2 separate regions of the Homo sapiens genome follow, and region 2 is linked to region 1. Evidence: promoter capture Hi-C in human tissues and cell types (Jung and others, 2019). All regions are on one chromosome and are shown on one strand. The core of a region is centred on a gene start or on the middle of the fragment in contact, and the rest is flanking DNA. Distances in the headings are between cores, read along the strand shown. Region 1 holds the start of SLC35G3 (solute carrier family 35 member G3). Region 2 overlaps SLFN12L (schlafen family member 12 like).

Region 1 (6,119 bases), core at 1,120-3,619:
AGACATTGGTCTGGGTAATGATTTTTTGGATTTGTTCCCAAAAGCACAGACAACAAAATTAAATATAGACAAATGGTATCATATCAAAGTAAAAAGCTTCTTGGTTCATGATGTGTAGCTAAAACAAACAAACTAAAAACCTTCTGCACAGCAAACAATCAACAGAGTAAAGAGATAACCTATGGAATGGGAGAAAATATTTGCAAGCCAGACATCTGATAAGGGGTTAATATCCAACACATATAAAGAGCTCAAACAACTCAATAGCAACAAAACAAAACAAAAAAGCAATTAAGACCTGCTTTCTGCTGACCAAGTCTTCTTCCTTACCCCTCCCTAATAAGAAGAAAAAAAGGCAATTAAAAGATGGGTAACTCCTCCTTAGTATAGTGGTAAAATTTAAACATTAAAAAAGTTTTGGGACCAGTCTGGTCACTCACACCTGTAATCCCAGCACTTTCGAAGGCCAAGGTGGGCAGATTGCCTGAGCCCAGGAGTTCAAGACTAGCCTGGGCAACATAATAAAACACTGTCTCTACAAAAAAAAAAAAAAAATTAGCTGGGCTTGAGCCATGTTTGTGTCACTGCACTTGAGCCTGGGTGAGAGAGCGAGACCCTGTCTCAAAAAAAAAAAAAAAAAAAAAAGCTTTAAGTTGTAAAAAAAAGTGGGTAAGATCAAAAGAAGAGAAGGAAAGAAAACAATGTATAAGATACCTGAGCTCTCCCTCTCCCTCTCCCTCTCCCCACGGTCTCCGTTTCCCTGTCTTTCCACGGTCTCCCTCTGATGCGGAGCCGAAGCTGGACTGTACTGCTGCCATCTCGGCTCACTGCAACCTCCCTGCCTGATTCTCCTGCCTCAGCCTGCGATTGCAGGTGCGCACCGCCACGCCTGACTGGTTTTCGTATTTTTTTGGTGGAGACGGGGTTTCGCTGTGTTGGCCAGGCTGGTCTCCAGCTCCTAACCACGAGTGATCTGCCAACCTCGGCCTCCCGAGGTGCCGGGATTGCAGACGGAGTCTCATTCACTCAGTGCTCAATGTTGCCCAGGCTGGAGAGCAGTGGCGTGATCTCGGCTAGCTACAACCTCCACCTCCCAGCCGCCTGCCTTGGCCTCCCAAAGTGCCGAGATTGCAGCCTCTGCCCAGCCGCCACCCCGCCTGGGAAGTGAGGAGCGTCTCCGCCTGGCCGCCCATTGTCTGGGATGTGAGGAGCCCCTCTGCCCGGCTGCCCAGTCTGGGAAGTGAGGAGCGCCTCTTCCCGGCCGCCATCCCATCTAGGAAGTGAGGAGCGCCTCTTCCCGGCCGCCATCCCGTCTAGGAAGTGAGGAGCGTCTCTGCCCGGGGGCCCATCGTCTGAGATGTGGGGAGCGCCTCTGCCTGGCCGCGACCCCATCTGGGAGGTGAGGAGCGTCTCTGCCCGGCCGCCCCATCTGAGAAGTGAGGAGCCCCTCCGCCCCGCAGCTGCCCCATCTGAGAAGTGAGGAGCCCCTCCGCCCGGCAGCCGCCCCGTCTGAGAAGTGAGGAGCCCCTCCACCCGGCAGCCGCCCCGTCTGGGAAGTGAGGAGCTTCTCTGCCCGGCAGCCGCCCCGTCCAGGAGGGAGGTGGGGGGCAGCCCCCGCCGGGCAAGCTGCCCCGTCTGGGAGGGAGGTGGGGGGTCAGCCCCCGCCCGGCCGCTGCCCCGTCCGGGAGGTGGGGGGCACCGCTGCCCGGCCGCCCCTTCTGGGAAGTGAGGAGCCCCTCTGCCCGGCCACCACCCCGTCTGGGAGGTGTACCCAACAGCTCATTGAGAACGGGCCATGATGACGGTGGTGGTTTTGTGGAATAGAAAAGGGGGAAAGGTGGGGAAAAGATAGAGAAATCAGATTGTTGCTGTGTCTGTGTAGAAAGAAGTAGACATGGGAGACTTCATTTTGTTCTGTACTGGGAAGGGTTCTTCTGCCTTGGGATGCTGTTGATCTGTGACCTTGCCCCCAGCCCTGTGCTCTCTGGGGCATGTGCTGTGTCCACTCAGGGTTAAATGGATTAAGGGCGGTGCAAGATGTGCTTTGTTAAACAGATGCTTGAAGGCAGCATGCTCGTTAAGAGTCATCACCACTCCCTAATCTCAAGTACCCAGGGACACAAACACTGCAGAAGGCCGCAGGGTCCTCTGCCTAGGAAAACCAGAGACCTTTGTTCACTTGTTTATCTGCTGACCTTCCCTCCACTATTGTCCTATGACCCTGCCAAATCCCCCTCTGCGAGAAACACCCAAGAATGATCAATAAAAAAAAACAAAAAACAAAAAAAGAAAGAAAAGAAGCAGAGTTGGACTCAGTGGGAAAATAGGCGTGCTACCACCTCAGGAGAGTTCCAGGGAAGAATCCCACCCCCACTCCAATGAGGTCACAATGGCTGGAGCTCTGAGGGGCCCAGGCTCCCTGAGCCAGGAGGAGAGGAGAAAGTCCAAGGAAAGATGGCTGGCAGTCACCCCTATTTCAACCAGCCTGACTCCACACACCCATCGCCGCCCTCCGCTCCACCCAGCCTCCGCTGGTACCAGCGCTGCCAGCCCTCTGATGCCACCAGTGGCCTGCTGGTGGCCCTGCTGGGTGGGGGCCTGCCTGCTGGCTTCGTGGGCCCCCTTTCTCGTATGGCTTACCAGGCTTCCAACCTGCCCTCGCTGGAGCTGCTCATCTGGCGATGCCTCTTCCACCTCCCTATTGCCCTGCTACTTAAACTGCGTGGCGACCCCCTTCTGGGAACTCCTGACATCCGAAGCCGGGCCTTCTTCTGTGCCCTGCTCAACATCCTCAGCATTGGATGTGCCTACAGTGCGGTTCAGGTGGTGCCCGCTGGCAACGCTGCCACTGTTCGCAAAGGTTCTTCCACCGTCTGCTCCGCCGTCCTCACTCTCTGCCTTGAGAGCCAGGGTCTCAGTGGCTACGACTGGTGTGGACTGTTGGGCTGCATCCTAGGACTAATCATCATTGTGGGACCTGGACTCTGGACACTACAGGAGGGGACCACGGGTGTCTACACCGCCCTGGGCTATGTGGAGGCTTTCCTGGGAGGCCTGGCGCTGTCCCTGAGGCTTCTGGTCTATCGTTCTCTGCACTTTCCCCCCTGCCTCCCAACAGTGGCCTTCCTATCTGGCTTGGTGGGGCTGCTGGGCTCTGTGCCAGGCCTCTTTGTGCTGCAGGCCCCCGTGTTGCCCAGTGACCTCCTGAGTTGGAGTTGTGTGGGGGCAGTGGGGATCCTCGCCTTGGTCTCCTTCACATGTGTGGGCTATGCGGTCACCAAGGCCCACCCTGCCCTGGTGTGCGCTGTCCTACATTCCGAGGTGGTTGTGGCCCTTATACTGCAGTATTATATGCTCCATGAGACTGTGGCACCTTCTGACATCGTGGCGGCAGGGGTTGTGCTGGGCAGCATTGCCATCATTACAGCCCAGAACCTCAGCTGTGAGAGGACAGGGAGGGTGGAGGAGTGAGATAGAACTTGGGAGCCCGGGGGTTGGGAGGGACAGGGATAAATAAAGGCAAAGACTGAAGACAAACATGGGAGGAGAAGTGACTGGAAAAGAACTGGTGTGGGAGAGGGATACCTCTCAGAGTCAAGGGTGACTTGGGGACTTGGTGGAGAGGGACTACGTGGAAGACCTGGGGCCAGCCTGGGACCAAGGGATGTGGAGTCCAGGCTGGGTCCTAGAATCAGGGCATAACTAAGGGGTAAAGTCTGAGGAGCAGATCCAAAGGGCTGAGGCAGGGAGGCCGTGGGCCATGGGGAGGACTTCACTCAGCAGCAAAGAGAAGAGCATTGGGGCTGGAGTGTTCCGGCAAAGACAGAGCCAGCAGCTGCGCTGGGGGAGGGAAGCGTGCCTCCCCACCCCTCCCCTCACGGGGAAGGTTTCCTTTCCTCGTGCTTGTGCCCCCCGCTTGGGGTGGTGACGTGACATTGACATCAAACAAGGATTACAGTGAATGTGAAAAAAAAAAAAAAAGATACCTGAATAGACATTTCTATGACATTTTAAAAGCCATGAATTTATTTTGGCACAAATATTTTATCATATGCAGTCACTTCTTTGTAAATGATTTTTTGTAAAGTCATTGGATATAAAAGAGTGATTTTCCTCACCTGAGTACATGAAAAGAAAATGCTGAAATCAATGTATAAATCAAATCATCTGTACTAGCACTGTTAATCTAGAAGAAAGTGGTTGCATAGAGAAGAGTAAGAATGTAGACCAGCTTATTGAAGTAGGAAAAGAAAAAAAAAAGGAGCTTCAGAGGTAGGCTTTGCCTCTTAAAAAAATTAAAAACATAAGTCACTGTGTTGTGCTTGGGAGTTAGCAGCAAAAAAAAAAAAAAAAAATGAAGTCACTGTCTGTGAAAGGAAAAGAAAAAATGAAAAGAGTTTGCATCCATTGAAGTATGCAGAAAAAGAAAACAAGTTTTAAAATAAAATAAAATGAGTATAGTTGGGGGCTTAGCAATGGACATACAGAGTGGAGTAATAGACACCGGAGGCTCCAAAAGGTGGGCAGATGGGTGGGGGATGAGGGATGAAATCCTACCTATTGGGTACAATGTTCACTATTCTGATGATGAGGATGCTATGCAATATGCTTTACCACTACGCAATGTATCCATGCAACAAAACTGCACTTGTACTCCTAAATCCATAAAAATTTAAAATTGTCTTGGCTGAGACCTCTTTTAAAAAATAATAAAATAAAAAAATTAGAGAGAATAGTAAGAGCAGAGCAAGGACATTTAGTCTATAGTTTCAAATGGACTTAATCATTTGAAACAATAAAGTTTTTCATTGAATCTTCATAGAGTATTAAAAAAAAAGCTGCTCATTGGCAGAATTTCCCACTGAGTTAGTATAGATTACATGCTCTTTGATAAAAGCAGCAAATAAAGTTACTTGGTTTTTTTTCTCTTTAGTGTTTGCTTTAAGAGAAAAATCCTAAACTCCTTCAGAGGAAGGAAAAAAGAGACAGAGAGTGAGAAATCCTTAAAACTGTAGGGACTTCCAATGCCAGGAAACCATGAAATATGAGAGTATATTTAGCAATCATGGTGATTTAGCTCATGGTAATTGGCATATGTATAATTATAATTTGCATTCCAGTTATTTAAACTGAGATATTCCTGATCAGGTTTAACACACTTGGGGAAAGATCTCTTTCCCCAAGAAATAAGATGGAGAGAGTCTTTGGAGAGTGGCCTAACTGAACTGGTAAGTCAGCTTCCTCCGGATTTTGGTAATTTCCTCACTTCTTCCATAATTTCTCAGTGCCCTGGCCATTTTCTGATAAGTCATGGTCTTCCAACGGCCTTTTCTTTTCCGCCAAAGCTCGGCAAGTTTTCCTTTGTTTTTTGATACAAACGGAAAGATGCCTTTGATTTTATCTACCCACTGAATACAAGGTGCCATCTCCGGATTACACAGGGATTCGTGAAGGTATTCAAACAGTCTAAGCTTCTTCCTGCCTTTTCCCCACTTTTGCTGGAGAATAGTGGGTTGTACCAGCTGGTTTTCAGTTATGTTCTGCAGAGACTGATGAATGTTTCCTTCAAAATAGAAGTCCGCAGCACTGTTGATTACCGTTCTCCAATTACAGAGAGGTTCCTCTGTAGGCAACACTCCATAGCAGCTGGAATTTCCTTTGACGTGAGGACAATAATTGATTAAAGCCAGGTAATTTTTGTAATCTGGCGAGTACTAAAGATCTCCAGTTGAATGTTGCCTCAGTGCCTCAAAAGCATCCTCAAATGCTTGACCCAGCTTGTCTTGTTCAACACACGTCATGTTTCATTAATAAATTGACAATTTTGTTCCTTGGCAATTGTTGCAGGAAGACACTTCAACCCTTTATAGAGATATTTCATTAATATCAGAATTGTAAATTCAATGGTAGGCTGTCATGAAAATAAAAAATTATTTTCCAGCATGATGGTTCTGCCCATCAGTGTCCAATGCAGCATCCACTTGCATATGGTGGAAATAGCCTTCCCCTCCCCTGAAACACATGTCTGCCTCCCGCTTGGCTAACCTGTAACCTGCCATTGTAACAGCTGTCACGTTTGGCCAATTTTATGATTTTCATTGCCTTTTCTTGCCTTTTTG
Region 2 (6,119 bases), core at 1,796-4,295, 320 kb before region 1:
AGACTAGACCAGTGGCTCTCAATAGAGTGGAGGGGGTGGTGGATTTTGCCCTCCAAGGGACATAATATCTGGAGATATTTCCGGTTGTCACCCCTTGAGGGGAGTGTGTTAATGGTACCTGGTGGATAGAGGCCAGGGATACTGCTGAACATCCTAGAAGGTACAGGATAGCCCCCCACAACAAACAATTTTCCAGCCACAAATCTCAATAGTGTCAAGGCTGACAAATCCTGTACTACAAAAAGAAGGAGTATAGTTCTATCCTTCTTAAACACGTATTCCAGAATGGAAAGGCAGAACTGGTTAGAGTTTTAATCTGATCAAAGTGATGGAATGTTTTGCTTTAGGACAACTAATGCCTGGTGCACTGAGGTTCCTATATGCTGGGGAGCTGGAAAATGGAATGAAGAATCTTAGAGGATTCCATGCCCCTAGTAGGGACCCCAACCTTTTTGATGCTGAAGTAATAGAGTTGCAAAAACTGTTTGTTCTTGTGAAGTGGTAGTGATATGTGAAGGACAACTAAGGGAAATAGTTTCCTCAGAAAGATAAACTATCTTCAGTGGATATTAGAAAATAAGGATATTAATGTCTCTCAAATTCTATGGTCCTATATTGATCAGTTTGAAGATGTTACTAAGTGTTTATATAAATCTAGTAGAGGGGGTCTCTAAGAATCCCAGGGAAAAAATAAGAAATTAAGCCCAAAACATCCAATTCTTTAAATATGCTAACTCTTTAAGAAACACTGGCGGGGTGCGGTGGCTCACGCCTGTAATCTCAGCACTTTGGGAGGCAGAGGCGGGTAGATCACGAGGTCAGGAGTTCGAGACCAGCCTGGCCAACATAGTGAAACCCTGTCTCTTCTAAAAATACAAAAATTAGCCGGGTGTGGTGGTGGGCTCCTGTAATCCCAGTTACTCATGCGGCTGGGTCAGGAGAATCGCTTGAACCTGGGAGATGGAGGTTGCAGTGAGCCAAGATCGTGCCACTTCACTCCAGCCTGGGCAACAAAGAGCAAAACTCCATCTCAAAAAAAAAAAAAAAAAAAAAAAAAATTGCCGGGCGTGGTGGCCGCTCCTGCAATCCCAGCTACGCAGAAGGCTGAGGCGAAAGGATGGCTTGAGTCTGGGAGGCGCAGGTGGCAGTGAGTTGAGATCACGCCACTGCACTCCAACCTGGGGTGACAGAACGAGAATAGGTCTCAAAAACAAACAAGCAAAAAATCAAAACAAACAAATAAACTAAAACAAAAGAAACACTCTCCAGGCATAGAGAAAATAATATAAACTCAGTGGTAATCCTATACACATGACTCTCTCTCAAACTTGCACAAATATAGTAAATGAACTAACGATTTTAATCTTCAGAACCCTGGATCTTGCTTTCCAAGTGCCTGTCCCGCCGGCGTCGGGTCTGAGCGGCTCCCTGTGCTCGGATGGTTTGTGGGCAACCGCTCCTTTCCCCCACCGCCGCAGTCCACACTCAGCGTTCTGGGGAAGAGGCTGGGTCGGAACGGAGCCATCGCCGCTGGAGTATTCGGGGCCCTTTTCATCGGGTACTGCATCTACTTCGACCGCAAAAGACTGAAGTGACCCCAACTTAAAGAATAGGCGTCCAGAATAAAGAAAGAAACAGAAGCTGGCCGAGGAGTGAGTTGAGCTTTCCAAGTTAGCTGACCTTAAAGATGCTGAAGCTGTCCAGAAATTCTTCCTGGAAGAGATATAGCTTTGGTGAAGAGATCCTAGCTAAAGGTGTAGACCACCTGACAAATCCAAGTGCTGTGTGTGGACAGCCACAGTGGTTACTGCAAGTGTTACAACAAACTCTTCCACTACCAGTGATCCAGATGCTTCTGACAAAGCCCCTACCAGTTAATCAGAGACTTGTAAGTGCTGGCGCTTGGCCAAAGACGATGTGGAATGAGAAACAAATGTCAACATAATAAAATCTCAGTTAAAATACTTGAAAAAGTCTTAACTTGGTAGTTGAGCAGAAGGGCAAATATGCTTGTTATGAACTATTCTACATTGAAATCTACCAAAGTTAATGTTTACTTTGTGTAAATCCATTTGGTTCATTTATTTTTCCCAGTGAAAAGCATATTTTGATAGAGATCTTTTCATTTTTTAAGTACACTATGAGCTACTGAAATATCACAGATTTTGTTCATTTCTAAAACATGAGATTAAAATGTGCATATGGCCTTGCTTATGTTGAAAACACCCAGGGCTCAGTGTTGAAAGATAGGCAGAAAAGTGTAGGAGAAACTGAAGAATGCACATTTTTACGGCTAGTGCATTATGCTATAAATCAGAAAATTTGATAGAGACTTGATCGTGTTTGTGAAAACTGAGGATTAAAATTTTGAGGTGATGATTCCATTTAATCTCTTAGACATAAATCTGCGAGGTGTGCTGTTGTGCTGTGTTAACATTACCACCTTCCAGTGTGTCAGTCTTGAAATGTTTTGTTTAAATCAGTGAGCTTAATGTGTTCTAAGCAATTATCTCCTTGCATTTAAAATATAAGTAGTTGCAAACAGCACCAGGAATTAGATTTATGTATACCCCAATCAAGCTTTGTGAGCTCACTTTCCTCAATGTATTGAACGAGGGAGTCGGAGTCCATTTGCTGATCTGCAAAGTGTCCCTTTCAGCTTCTCGGTCATTTGGTTCTGTTTAGTATCTTCATATCCACCTTCATCTGAGGAACGTATGTTGGCAACCAGGCCTTGCCTTTTTTAATATTCTGAATTTCGCGTGCTTGCCTGACTTAGTATTTCCAAATTTATCTTTTTTCAATGATACAACTCTATTGTTGATTTTCACTGAAATTATGATTCTGTCACTACTCTGTAAATTAATCTGAAACTTAACTTTTAAGGTAACCGCGATGATCTACTTGTAAAAATGTTTGCTGCGTTTTGCTTTTATCTTCAATGTACCTCCTAAGTCCTACTTCAACCTGATTAATTTATCCTGTTAAACAATGAAAGTAAGGTGTGACCTTGTGACTGAAGACCTGAAAAGAATGGAGAGGGTGGGACCTCTTATTCTCAAATAGTGACATATTATCTGCAGTCACAGACTCAGTTTCAGAACGACAGTAAGGATACTTGGTGGCATCTGTTGGTACTTGGTGGCATCTGTTGGTACTTGGTGGCATCTGTCGAACTGAGCAGCATTTCTCATTGTACAGATAGCTTTCATTCTGCCTAAAAATCTGTGGGGAGATCCCAAAGACTTTTCCTATGTACTAGGCATTTCATTTTGGTTTACTTACAAACTCTTTTTAAGTGTCATTAACCTTGTTTTTTTTTATGGTATAGTGGAAAGAGAAATACAGTTCCAGTGTCTCCCTCTGGTCAGCTGCACAGCCTCGGGCAAGTCACAGTTCATCTCTGAACTTACCTGTAGTATATATAAGTGAACATTTGACTAGGTGACTCACACATTTGAGGATTTTCTCAGATACCTTGTGGGTTTGCCATCCTTATCCCTTAAACAGTACTTTTGATGATGAGGCACAATATCATTTTCAGGGGAGATGACCAGCACAAACATACCAGATAGTCAGTTTTACTAATAGGATCCCAAATCCACCCCAGTGCAGTGGTGACTGGTCAGTGACTGACCAGGCAGTGAAGAAACCTTTTGCACTAGCCCAGATATAGATAGAGGGACAGTCAAAGGGCAAATAGAGGAGGGAAAGGGAGCAAGGGGCAAACAGCTCAGCTGGGAAAGAACGGGCCCAGAGAAAGGGGGGTTGGCTGGAGGAGTGAGGGGGCAACTTAGGTTCGGAGAGGGTAGAAACACTATGTCCTTGAAAACTGTAGTGCAATATAAACTTGGTATCACTTGGCTCAAAATAATTGGCTTTGGTCTAATGCCTGAAAAGGCAGTGATATCGTCTTCATTTCACAGTTGATTAAGCCAAGTGCATTTTCTTATTTAAATGACAACTTCAGTGCTTTAAAATTACACACTACCTTTTAAAGCTAGCAGTGTTAAGTTAAAGAAAAAAGGCTGGGCACGGTGGCTCACGCCTGTAATCCTGGCACTTTGGGAGGCCGAGGCAGGCGGATCACAAGGTCAGGAGATCCAGGCCATCCTGGCTAACACAGTGAAACCCCGTCTGTACTAAAAATACAAAAAAATTAGCCGGACATGGTGGCGGGCGCCTGTGGTCCCAGCTACTCAGGAGGCTGAGGTAGGAGAATGGTGTGAACCCGGGAGGCGGAGCTTGCAGTGAGCTGAGACCACGCCACTGCACTCCAGCCTGGGCGACAGAGCGAGACTCCGTTTCAAAAAAAAAAAAAAAAAAAAAAAATCAGCTCTTTTTTAAATTCTCTCCCAGAAACACAATTGCCACTTTCTGTTCCCATCTTAAGTTTACCGGGTGATAGAACCAAGTCCCTGAGGTAGGAGAATGGTGTGAACCCGGGAGGCGGAGCTTGCAGTGAGCTGAGACCACGCCACTGCACTCCAGCCTGGGCGACAGAGCGAGACTCCGTCTCAAAAAAAAAAAAAAAAAAAAAATCAGCTCTTTTTTAAATTCTCTCCCAGAAACACAATTGCCACTTTCTGTTCCCATCTTAACTTTACCGGGTGATAGAACCAAGTCCCTGTGGTGATGCTGGCCAAATGCTGCTCAGCAGGTGAGAACAGAAAAACAAAACAAAACATAACAAAACCCAGATTTCAGTGGAATGATAAACAGCTTGAATGTTTCCATGTGCTAACGTTGTACACTTACAAAAAAAACTTTGGAAGTGGAAAATATGTATTAGTGCCATGTTGACAATGTATCTTTAGGCAAGGATACATTGTTTGTTTCCACAATTTGTACTTAAAGTGAAAGCACATGTAAAACATAGACTTAGCTGGCCCTGGAATTGCTGTTATGTTTTTTATTTATTTTATTTTGTTTCATTTTATTTAGAGATGAAGTCTTGCTTTGTTGCCCAGGCTGGAGTGCAGTGGCACAATCATAGCTCACTGCCACGTCAAATACTTGGGCTCAAGGGATCCTTCCACCTCAGCCTCCTGCTCCTGAGTAGCTAGGACTATAGGGGCTCTGTGTGTGTGTGTGTGTGTGTGTGTGTATGTGTGTGTGTGTAGAGACGAGGTCTCACCATCTTGCCCAGGCTGGTCTCTAACTCCTGGGCTTAAGGGATCCTCCTGCGTCAGCCTCCCAAAGTGATGCTTTTCTATTAACAGACAACTAGAACTTATGTCACACTTAATTTATGTAAAGTGTGTAAAACCTAGAATAGTGTACATAGTAAATATTTGATTCCTTTTACCCATGAGTAAGTTTATTTTACCATCTTCTTGCCTATCTTTCTGACCTTGTTGAAACAACCTGAGGACCAGAGTATTAATGAAATGTTATTGCAGAAGAGATTATGAGAAAATTGGTATATACTACAAATATCATACAAAATCTTGTAAGAAATGCAGTTTTATTATCGCTTCAATCTTAATTGTTTAAGTGACTATTAAAGGGATTGGAGAAAAAGAAAAGAACTCTGCATCTTAAAATGTTTTCTACTAGAAAAAAATTACAATTGAGAAATACAATCTTTAGTTAAATGTATACATTACAGTCAAAATAGAATAAGATAAACATGAAAATCAATGTAAAAACAAAAGAGTAGTAAAGTTTAAACAATATTGCATCTTTCTAATATACGCCATTTCTCTCTCTCAACAGTTTGAGTTAAAAAAATAGGAAAATCTGACTAGAACTATGGTCAGTGCTGATGAAGAAGCAAGACATTCAAAGTAACTTCAGGTCAGATATTAGTAGTAATTAAATAATTTAGGAATCCTTTCTCTTCTTTTTTTTTTTTTGCTGTGAATTCAGTTTTATTTGGCATAATTAACAGAGAAAATTTTATGCTTCCATAGGAGATTTTGGTTACTGTTTTCCTTTTTTTAAAACTGAGATATAATTGCATACTATATAATTAATTCTTTCAAAGTGTACAATTCAATAATTTTTAGTACATTCACAGAGTTGTGCAATGATCACCACTATCCACCTCACAAAGAAATGCAACATCCATTAGCGCTCACTCTCATTCTCCTTGTCCAGCCCCTGGCAACGTCTCC

Evidence for each region. Contacts are between HindIII fragments. The study calls those that stand out against the background at their distance.
Region 2: a fragment that was not itself captured here is called in contact with the fragment with the promoter of SLC35G3 in region 1 in 1 of the 25 tissues and cell types used here (mesendoderm cells).

What each region holds. Positions count from the first base shown.
Region 1 is chr17:35,190,643-35,196,761 of GRCh38, reverse strand. SLC35G3 (solute carrier family 35 member G3) reads left to right here and starts at 2,369. Exons shown (of 1, transcript NM_152462.2): 1 at 2,369-4,242. The coding sequence starts at 2,455. The coding sequence ends at 3,471. It also overlaps the pseudogene SPICP2. The HindIII fragment of the contact is 5,493 bases long and covers 372-5,864 here.
Region 2 is chr17:35,510,573-35,516,691 of GRCh38, reverse strand. The region is part of intron 2 of SLFN12L (schlafen family member 12 like); the gene reads left to right. It also overlaps the pseudogene TOMM20P2. Among named protein-coding and RNA genes, the nearest start is that of SLFN12L, 24 kb to the left of the region's middle. The HindIII fragment of the contact is 5,418 bases long and covers 337-5,754 here.